Regions from separate parts of the Homo sapiens genome. Here region 1 is linked to region 2. The links are contacts of gene promoters, found by promoter capture Hi-C in blood cells and fetal thymus (Javierre and others, 2016). All regions are on one chromosome and are shown on one strand. The core of a region is centred on a gene start or on the middle of the fragment in contact, and the rest is flanking DNA. Distances in the headings are between cores, read along the strand shown.

The links. Contacts are between HindIII fragments. The CHiCAGO score rates a contact against its expected background, and 5 or more counts as called.
Region 1: a contact is called between a fragment that was not itself captured here and the fragment with the promoter of APP in region 2, in 1 of 17 cell types (fetal thymus). The highest score is 7.8, in fetal thymus.

Annotation. Positions count from the first base shown.
Region 1 is chr21:29,299,036-29,303,343 of GRCh38, forward strand. All of the region lies in intron 1 of BACH1 (BTB domain and CNC homolog 1), which reads left to right. Among named protein-coding and RNA genes, the nearest start is that of BACH1, 2.3 kb to the left of the region's middle. RefSeq lists silencers at 1-321, 3,273-3,567 and an enhancer at 1,552-1,661. The HindIII fragment of the contact is 240 bases long and covers 2,253-2,492 here.
Region 2 is chr21:26,169,352-26,173,846 of GRCh38, forward strand. It overlaps APP (amyloid beta precursor protein), which reads right to left and starts at 1,419. Exons shown (of 18, transcript NM_000484.4): 1 at 1,213-1,419. The coding sequence starts at 1,269. It overlaps APP-DT (APP divergent transcript), which reads left to right and starts at 1,516. Exons shown (of 4, transcript NR_186396.1): 1 at 1,516-1,701. RefSeq lists enhancers at 1-131, 630-1,154 and silencers at 172-441, 942-1,771. The HindIII fragment of the contact is 2,642 bases long and covers 1-1,904 here.

The DNA.
Region 1 (4,308 bases), core at 1,123-3,622, 3.1 Mb after region 2:
GGACAGGTCCAGTGAAGGCGCGGGCGGGCCGGGGGCGGCTCTTTCTGGGCTGGGCGGGGCGCGGGGGGCACGTATCGGGGCCCGCGGGGGGCGCCGGCGGCCGGGATCCTGGAAGTGGCCGCGACGCCGGAAGGGGCGTCCCGTCGGCGGCCGAACCCCCTGCACTGCCGGAGCTGTTGTTTACCCGCGCGCGCCGTACTTTACCCGGGGCGGGCGGGGGCTGGGGGCCGCGGGGTCCCTGCCCCACCCCCCTCCCTGCCCTCGGGCGCCAGCCCGGCCCCTCGCCCGCGGCCCGCCCGGGCTGTGACACATCAGCACCGCCCTCGCGGCTGGGGCCCCGTATTGTCCTCCGCCGCCTCCCACCGCATGCCCAGCCTCGCGTCTACTCAGCCCGGTGGCTGTCGCGCGTGGAATCGCGTAAGAAAAGCCGAGTTTGTGGCTGGGGAGAGAAGGCCACCGTGCTGAGCTGGATTTAGCGAAGACTGGTTTTGGGGACCGGAGAGCCCAGGACTCCCTTTGTTGGAGTTTTGCCCACGCGTTGTAATTAAGCCTCGCACAATATGGTGAGAGTGGGCGTTGATTCTGGAGACACCAGCTTTGTGCTCGTGTAATGTAACACGAGTGCCGTTGCTTTCTCATTCTTACACGGCAGTTTCATGTCATTGAGTAGAATTGTGCGGAATGCTTTTATGGAGTGAGGCTTCTGCGTTAAACTTGTGCTGATTCCAGGTAAAGTGTAGTAGTAATTGTGAAAGAACGTGTATGAGGAAAACGAGCTACAATGTCATGCTTGGAGGAACAAAGAATGTTTTGTAGGATGCTTTGCTTTTTGGAGAATTGTGTAGGGGTAGGGACTGTTACCCATGGATGATGCTATGGGAATTTGATCATGTATTTGAACACCCTTTACATCAGAGGGTCTGCATTGAATGCAGTTCAGAAGGATAAAGGGTGGAAATCCCAGATGTGTTAGTGGCAGAGCACTTGAGCGCTTCACATAGTCAAGCAGAGAAATGGGAAGAGGTCGGCTTGCTTCTTCCTGGTCTTTGGGTAGTGGTGCAAGGGCTGGGCTGGGCTTGAAGGCACTTGCCACTTCTGCCTTTGGACATCTTGAAGAAGCTTAGGGAAGAAAGGCTCCCGGTGAGTCAGCTTGGAGTAGGGTGACTTTGGCGTAGTGATTCTTGTATTGTTGTTTAACCTATGTTTCTGTCAAGTGGTTTACTGTTGTTCGGTATGTTGGTTGGTTAACAAGGTAGGATGACTCTCTAAAAAGTTGGGTTGCTGAGTCATTCGCCCCAGCTTGAGAGGTAATTAGAAACAGCTGGTGCAAATACTCTCATCACATGCCTCCACTATAAAAGGCCAAAGAGCGCTCTAGAGAGGTTGCTTCAGAAGGCTGAAGGGGACCCAGCTGGGGTTGTTTTGATACAGGTTATCAGTGGGTGAAGTGGAAGAGCACTCTTAGGCAGTGGCCAATAGCACTGAGGCGGGTTTAAAGACGGAGCCTCGTGACCTGCTGTCTGAGAATAAATTTGCGCTGGAGAGAGCTAAAACTGGGGAAGAAATTTGCAGCTAGGGGTAACCCAATAAAAAATATTGTAACAAAAATATTTACTACTCTTACTGGACTTAGTTTCCTTTTTGTGGTTTCTGTTACGTGGTCTATAAGTTTCAAGCAGTGAGCTTAATTTGTGCGTCATAAAAATTTGGTTATGAGTACACAGAAGGGACTTGCTCTGTTTCTCATGGCCCTTGGCTTTTCATGCATACACAAGAAGTTTCAGGAGTCAGAGGAGGGTAAGCACCATATGGGTGGAATTAATAGGTCTCATTGGGTTAAGTCTCGAAAGAGCTGTTTAATAAATAGCCAACCGTAAATACCTGTCTCATTGTCTTGATTATATGACACCACTGCCTTTACACCTGGTGTCATTGCTTCTTGCTTTAAAAAGGAGCACACAACCCAAATATTTATATGAGTCCTCATTGCAAACAAAGTTTAGGAATGGGAAATGTAGAGCTGGGAATTTGGCCCTTTGGTGAAAAAAATGATGATTCCTATTAATGGTAGTTCATTTAAAATATTCTGTATTAGGAAAAACGATTTATTTTGTTCCTTTAAGTCTGGGACTAGAGGAGATTAGAAATCATGAATTTTGTAAGTATTAGGGCCTCCAAGGTGGGGTGCAAGGAGGTTCATTTGGAAGGAATATATTAAAACTTTTAAAAACTTTAATATAAGAAAGACATTAAGCTTAAAGATGCAGACTAACAATCGTGTATTCATATTATATAATGCGCGTGCATGTCCTCCACCCCTTTGTTGCTGGGGGAACATAGCCTGTTAACCACTGTCAGTAACATTCTTTCAACAACCGGAATGCTTTTTCTTTTAACTTACGGTTTCCTCCTAAGAGTTCTTTCAGACTGTTAATATTCCATTTAAGTTTTATTTTATAGGTAGTTCTATTGTCTGTATGTTTTACTTTAGAAGCTTGAGTGTAAATTTCTTGTTACATTGTTGATACTGGGGATGGAAATACAAAAAATACAGAATTTCATTTGATAACCTGTATTTTGAATTTGGAGACAAGCCCAGCGGTTGGTTTAATGTATGTGATCTGAAGTGCAGTGATGTGTAAAAGGGTGCAGTGGAAATACTTGAAGATAATCTACACATTGGAGTGTAATATGTATAGCATATGTAAAAATTAGTTTGTACTGTTACTCCTTGAAGTCTGTTTTTTTTTGTTTGTTTTTTGCCAAGCTTATGTTCTCTTAAGATTAATAAGACGACATATTCAGTAAATCCCTTGGGAAGTGGCATTTATTCAGAATATCAACCTCCTACTAGTGCTGGGGGCGGGTGGCGGCGGTGAGGGTGGTTAGTATTTACCATTCAGTTAAATCTCATGTGCCATGTGCCTTCTACACCCCTGTACTGTGAGAGGTGATGCTCAGAATAACAGTTGCAAAGCCCGTTAAAATTACCACTTGTCAGATTTTCTCTTCATAGTGCTGATCTCTCCATGACTTACGTTTTAGGAATCACCACCTCTCTTCTAATTTTCTGACTAATGTTCTGTTAATGAGAGAATTGTCTTAACCCTAAAACCTGCATTCCCTGAGCATTCTAGACAGAGGGTTTATTTTATGTGGTGGAACGATGATTTTTGAGATTGTTTTGATTTAAAATATATGTCAAATGAGGTAATGTACCGATGGCCAAGGTATGGGTAATTTGAGTGCAATTCGCCAGAATCCGTGCCCCTTGGAGGGAGTAAACATTTCAGGACTGCAGCTAAAACATTGACTTACACTCTCCTGAAGCCCAGGCACCTGGCTTACACAGTGCACTAACATAACTGAAGTCTGGGTTTGATCACTGTACAGTTGACAAAGAAGCAGTAAGCAGAATGGTTAAAAAGTAGTTCTGGAGCCAGACTGCTTAAGGTCAGGTTCTGGTTGTGTCACCCACTTTAAAGCCTTGGGCAAGCTCTTCTACCTGGTAACTAGTGCCTCATTGTTTCCTCTGTAAAACAGGGGTGGTGATAGTAGAATCTGTATCAGAGAGGTTGTTGTGAGGATTATATGCGTTAATACGGGGTAAGTGGTTAGAACAGTGCCAGCTTTATAAGAAACATCAAGTGTTAGGTGTTATTATCTGTTGTTCAGAATCAGGGAAGTACTTAGTTACACAGTAGTGTTTTATAGCTGTTGAGAGCTGAATTGCCGGCATTGATCACAAGTGAGACTGGAAAAACAACCCGGGGAACACTCTTATGTTAAGTCAGTAGCACCATCTCAAACATACATCCAACTTCTGAGGGCAACGAACACAGGACATAGCTTTTTACTTAAAGGAATCTTAACAGTCTCAGCGGAGTGCTTGAGGTAGTCACTAACCAGTTAATTGAAACTGGCTTTTACGAAATAAAAACACTTGCCATTCTTTGGCTAGTCTTTTCCACGTTGTAGTTGACATTGTGGCCTGGCAGCTTTAGTAACCTGTCCACCCCTCCCTTCTTGTTAATACCAGAACAGAACTAGTTTCTCAGTACATATTCCTGGGCCCTATCCAGTTTGTTGGAAACATTTAGAATGTAAATTTGTAAGCTAATTAGTTTCTTCTAAGTATTATGTTTTCTTTAGATGATATGCCTGTACTAATACAGAAAAATTATCCATGAAATGGATATGAATACAATGGACATATTTATCGTATAGCTTTTTGTACCTGTTAGTAATTCAGAAAGGTTGTGTTATTTTGACCATTCTTTCAGCCAGATTGTAAGTTTCCTGATGGTG
Region 2 (4,495 bases), core at 169-2,668:
TCGGACCCTCCCCAGCATCCTGTGCCCCCAGGGGAACTAAACCAGAGTCCCCAGAGCTGCCAGGGAAGAGGCCGCGCCTTAATCAGACAAACGCCTCCTTGGATGCACAGGACAGAGCCCGTGCCTCCCCACCATCCGCCACTGCCCTTTCCAGACGCACATCCCACTCTCCGCCTTATTTCCTCCCCGCCAAGGACTTTACAGCCCAGCACAGAATTAAGCCTCGGAGGTGATCCGAGGGTGGGAAGCAGAGGGGCCCCGAGGCTCCGCCAGAAGCCCCGGCAGCGTCTCTGCCCCCTCCCAGGCGGACGCGCAGCCCCGGGAAGGGAGCCGGGCGGGAGCCTCGGTGGCGCACTGAGACTAACGCGGCTCGGCCCACGGCGAGGGCGGGGTGTCGCGGCTTTTGTTCCCGCGGACCTTCTGCCTCTCAGACAGAGCTTAGGGTGCGAGCGAACTCCCGGGACGTCCAGACTTGGGGAAGGCGCGGGGTGGCTATGGGTCTCCGACCCCTCCCATTTCTCGCAAGTTACACAAAAGGGAGACGCGGACATGCACAAAGTTTGCCTGTGGAAGGCGGTGCGCGACCCCGACGCCGGCTCGGGCTAGGGTCGCACCCAGGCTGCCGCCGCCAGCAGCCGCGAAAAGAGGTTGGAGCAAGGAAGGGGGATGGGGGTGAGAGAGGAAGGTGAAACGAGGCGGAGAACGCAGGGAAAAGCGAGGGGCTCCTAGCTTCCTGGGCTGTCCCGACTCCTCCTCCTCCTCCCCAGGGCCCAAGAGAAAGGAAAGGGCAACGATTCAAGAGCGAAGGACTGGCTTTAGGGACGCTGCGTTTTCGGTTTTCCCCACGTGCTCCTTCCCCCTTCCCCCCTGTCTGAATGTCTCTCGCCTCCCCCGACCCCCGCTTCCAAGGCAGGGACTAAGTCGGGGTCTGGGCTCAGGGTCGCCCCCTACCCTTCTCGCCCCGGGCTGGCGCGGAACCAGGGAGACCAGCGCCTCGCCCGCTCCCTCTCAGCGGGCCGGAGCGCGACTCCCTGGGGCAGGGCTGGGCCGAAAGCGGGGATGCGCTGGACGTCCGCAAGCGGGGGCGGAGAGGAGAGGGGTCCCATTGACGGACCCCCGGCTTCTCTGCATTAAAGACTTGGGTTAAGGTCTTGGGGGGTATCGCGTCCCCACCGTGCAGCCTCCCCCCGCCTTCCGAGGCGCGGCACCCACCTCCAGCGCCCGAGCCGTCCAGGCGGCCAGCAGGAGCAGTGCCAAACCGGGCAGCATCGCGACCCTGCGCGGGGCACCGAGTGCGCTGCTGTGCGAGTGGGATCCGCCGCGTCCTTGCTCTGCCCGCGCCGCCACCGCCGCCGTCTCCCGGGGCCCCCGCGCACGCTCCTCCGCGTGCTCTCGCCTACCGCTGCCGAGGAAACTGACGGAGCCCGAGCGCGGCGGCGGGGCTCAGAGCCAGGCGAGTCAGCTGATCCGGCCCACCCCGCTCGGCACCCGAGAGAGACCCCTAGCGGCGCCGCCGGGGAACTGCGCCCGCTCGCGCCGGGAGGGGCCCTCGCGCCCCGCGCCCACAGGTGCACGCGCCCTTGGCGCCGCCTGCACCCCACGCGCCCCCTCCGCTCCCCGGCCGACGGCCCACCTGGGCTTCGTGAACAGTGGGAGGGAGAGTCTGGGGCCAGGAGAGGGACGGTGCAGGATCAGGGAAAGGTGAGTCCTAGGACGCTGAGGCTCTAGAAAAGTCGAGAGCGCTCCTGCTCGTCCCCGTGAGCTTGAATCATCCGACCCCGCAGGCCTCCCGGGGGTGTCGTATAAAGGACTGCTGCTAGGGTGCGTTTTTATCCGCATTTCGTTTTTTCTCTCGGTTTGGAGAGGTGGGGCAGGCGTTTCTGGAAGAGAATGAGAACGAGTGAAGCTTAAAGGAAATAGGATTTTCTTTGCTTGTTGAGACAGCAAAACCTCATTTTTTAACCCCCAACGTCAAAAGCAGGCACGAGCAACCTGGAATTTCTATCTTTAGAACGAACCAAAGGAGCAAGGCGCAGGACCTGGCAAAGAAGCGGCCAACCCATTTACTTCTTCTTGAAAGCAGGGTTCTGGGCTTGGGTTTTGTTTCTTTCTTATATTTTTGTTTGTTTTTGGTTTTGTTTTGTTAAAGGGGGTGGTCAGTGTGGATTTTGCGGGGCGGGGGGTCTTTTTTTGTTGTTAAGCAGGGATGTAACATCCATCTGAGTTGGGGAAGAAGGAAAAATTAGGAGAGATCATTCGTATTCGACCCCCGTAAATGAGGACTTCTGACCTCAAACGCTGCCCTTGTTCTTCATTGTGTCTGTCCTGAATTATAGAAATGAACCTTCTGCCATGCCACTTTCTCCTGGATTAAACACAAACCGTCCACTGTCCAGTTAGTGTCCAGATAGTTTAGAATGCTCTAGAACTGCCCAGATATATCCCCTGCTCTTGACCTGAAGTAGCATTTAGTTACCAAGCCACAGCCCACTCCACACAGGGCTTGGAGCGAAGGACTGAAGCCAGGGAGTGCTCTGGCCCTTCTGAGGGCTGCACTGCAGCCTGCCTTCTCTCCCTTGCTCATTGCGCTGACAAGGGTGCCTAGGCCCGGGAAGGATGGCTCAGCCAGCGGGGTACAGACTTCCTTCCTGGGAAGTCATTTCTGTACCAGCTCCCCTAAATGTTGTCTTGTGTGTCTTTTCCCGCACTAGGCATTCAGTCTTGACTCTTGGATTACTTTTGCCCCTGAATGTCCTTTGGATGTCCTCAACAAATAAGGACAAATATTTATTGTCATGCAGTATTTGTTTATACGCTTCATGTCATTTACTTCCTACAAAAGCCAAAGAGGCTGTTACTATTATTCCTATTTATACATCAGGAAAATGAAGCTAATGAACTCCCAAATCTAATAGCAAGTAAGTGACATGAAGCTGGGACAGCAGGGAAAAGCCTAAAGTGACAGGACAAACCCAGTTGTTCACTTTCTGCACCACATTTACCCACCGCAATTCCGTATTTGTTCCGGGTCTGCATGAGCAAATAAGGCAAAAAAGAAGGTATCTGAATGCAAAGAGAAACGTGGTCCAAAGCTACAAATCTTGCAGAGTCCACTGCAAAATGCAAACGTGAGACCCTTTGTTACATTATTAAGAATTTTAAGGCCGGGCCTGGTGGCTCATGCCTGTAATCCCAGCACTTTAGGAGGCCCAGGTGGGCAGATCACCTGAGGTCAGGAGTTCTAGACCAGCCTGGCCAACATGGTGAAACCCCCATCTCTACTAAAAATGCAAAAATTAGCCGAGCGTGGTTACTCCTGCCTGTAATCCCAGCTACTCCAGAGGCTGAGGCAGGAGAATCGCTTGAACCTGGGAGGCGGAGGTTGCAGTGAGCCAAGATTGTGCCATTGCACTCCAGCCTGGGCGACAGAGCGAGACTCCACCTCAAAAAAAAGAAAAAAAATTAAATTAAGAATTTTAAGATGGCAATGGCAGAGCGTTAAACCAAGCATGGGGCTCCTCCCACCGCAGGGCCTGTGAGACTCTCCAGGGTTGCATGCCCATGAAGCCAGCCCTGGGAAGGAGGAGGCAACTTTAAGAGTGAGGGACTTTTCTTTGGGAGGCTGAGGCGGGCGGATCACGAGGTCAGGAGATCAACACCATCCTGGCTAACACGGTGAAACCCCGTCTCTACTAAAAATACAAAAAATTAGCCGGGCGTCGTGGCGGGCGCCTGTAGTCCCAGCTACTGGGGAGGCTGAGGCAGGAGAATGGCGTGAACCCGGGAGGCTGAGCTTGAAGTGAGCCGAGATCGCGCCACTGCACTCCAGCCTGGGCGACAGAGCGAGACTCCGTCTCAAAAAAAAAAAAAGAGAGTAAGGAACTTTTATTGAGCATGAAATTCAAAATTGTAGAGATGAGATCATAATCTATAAAAATTAAAGTTCTTAGATTTAGCAGTTTCTCTTTCCACTGTTGAAATTCACCACACTGACACATTCCCTGGTCAAGATGTTCCTGGGGGAAGATGATTATGCTGCTGATTGCGTCAGAATGATGGACATTGCCTGCATGTTCTCTGGTTCCTTCACTACTCAGAGATCCTGATGGCTTTTTGCTTTTCAGCCACTAGCTCTGTTCTGCATTTAATGCCATTTCCTGCCCTGAGGTGTCTTGCAGATCCTCCAAGCAGAAAACGCAGGAACATCCCTAGTTATAACCCTACAAAGTTGGGGAAGGAACCAACAACCACTTGTCTGCTGGAATTCCTACAACAGCATCCCCATCCTAGTTTCAAGTGTCTCCATTTGTGAGATATTCACTGGCTCTCCAGACTGTGCATTCTATCTTTGGGCATTTCTGGTTACTAGAATGTTCTTATCCCATTTAAAGCTCACATCCCCCGCCTTTAAACTCCCACTCAGATATCCTTGTATCCCCAGTGACCAAGCAGAATAATTCTTTTCCACACTTCAGATCTTTACAAATTTGCCAGC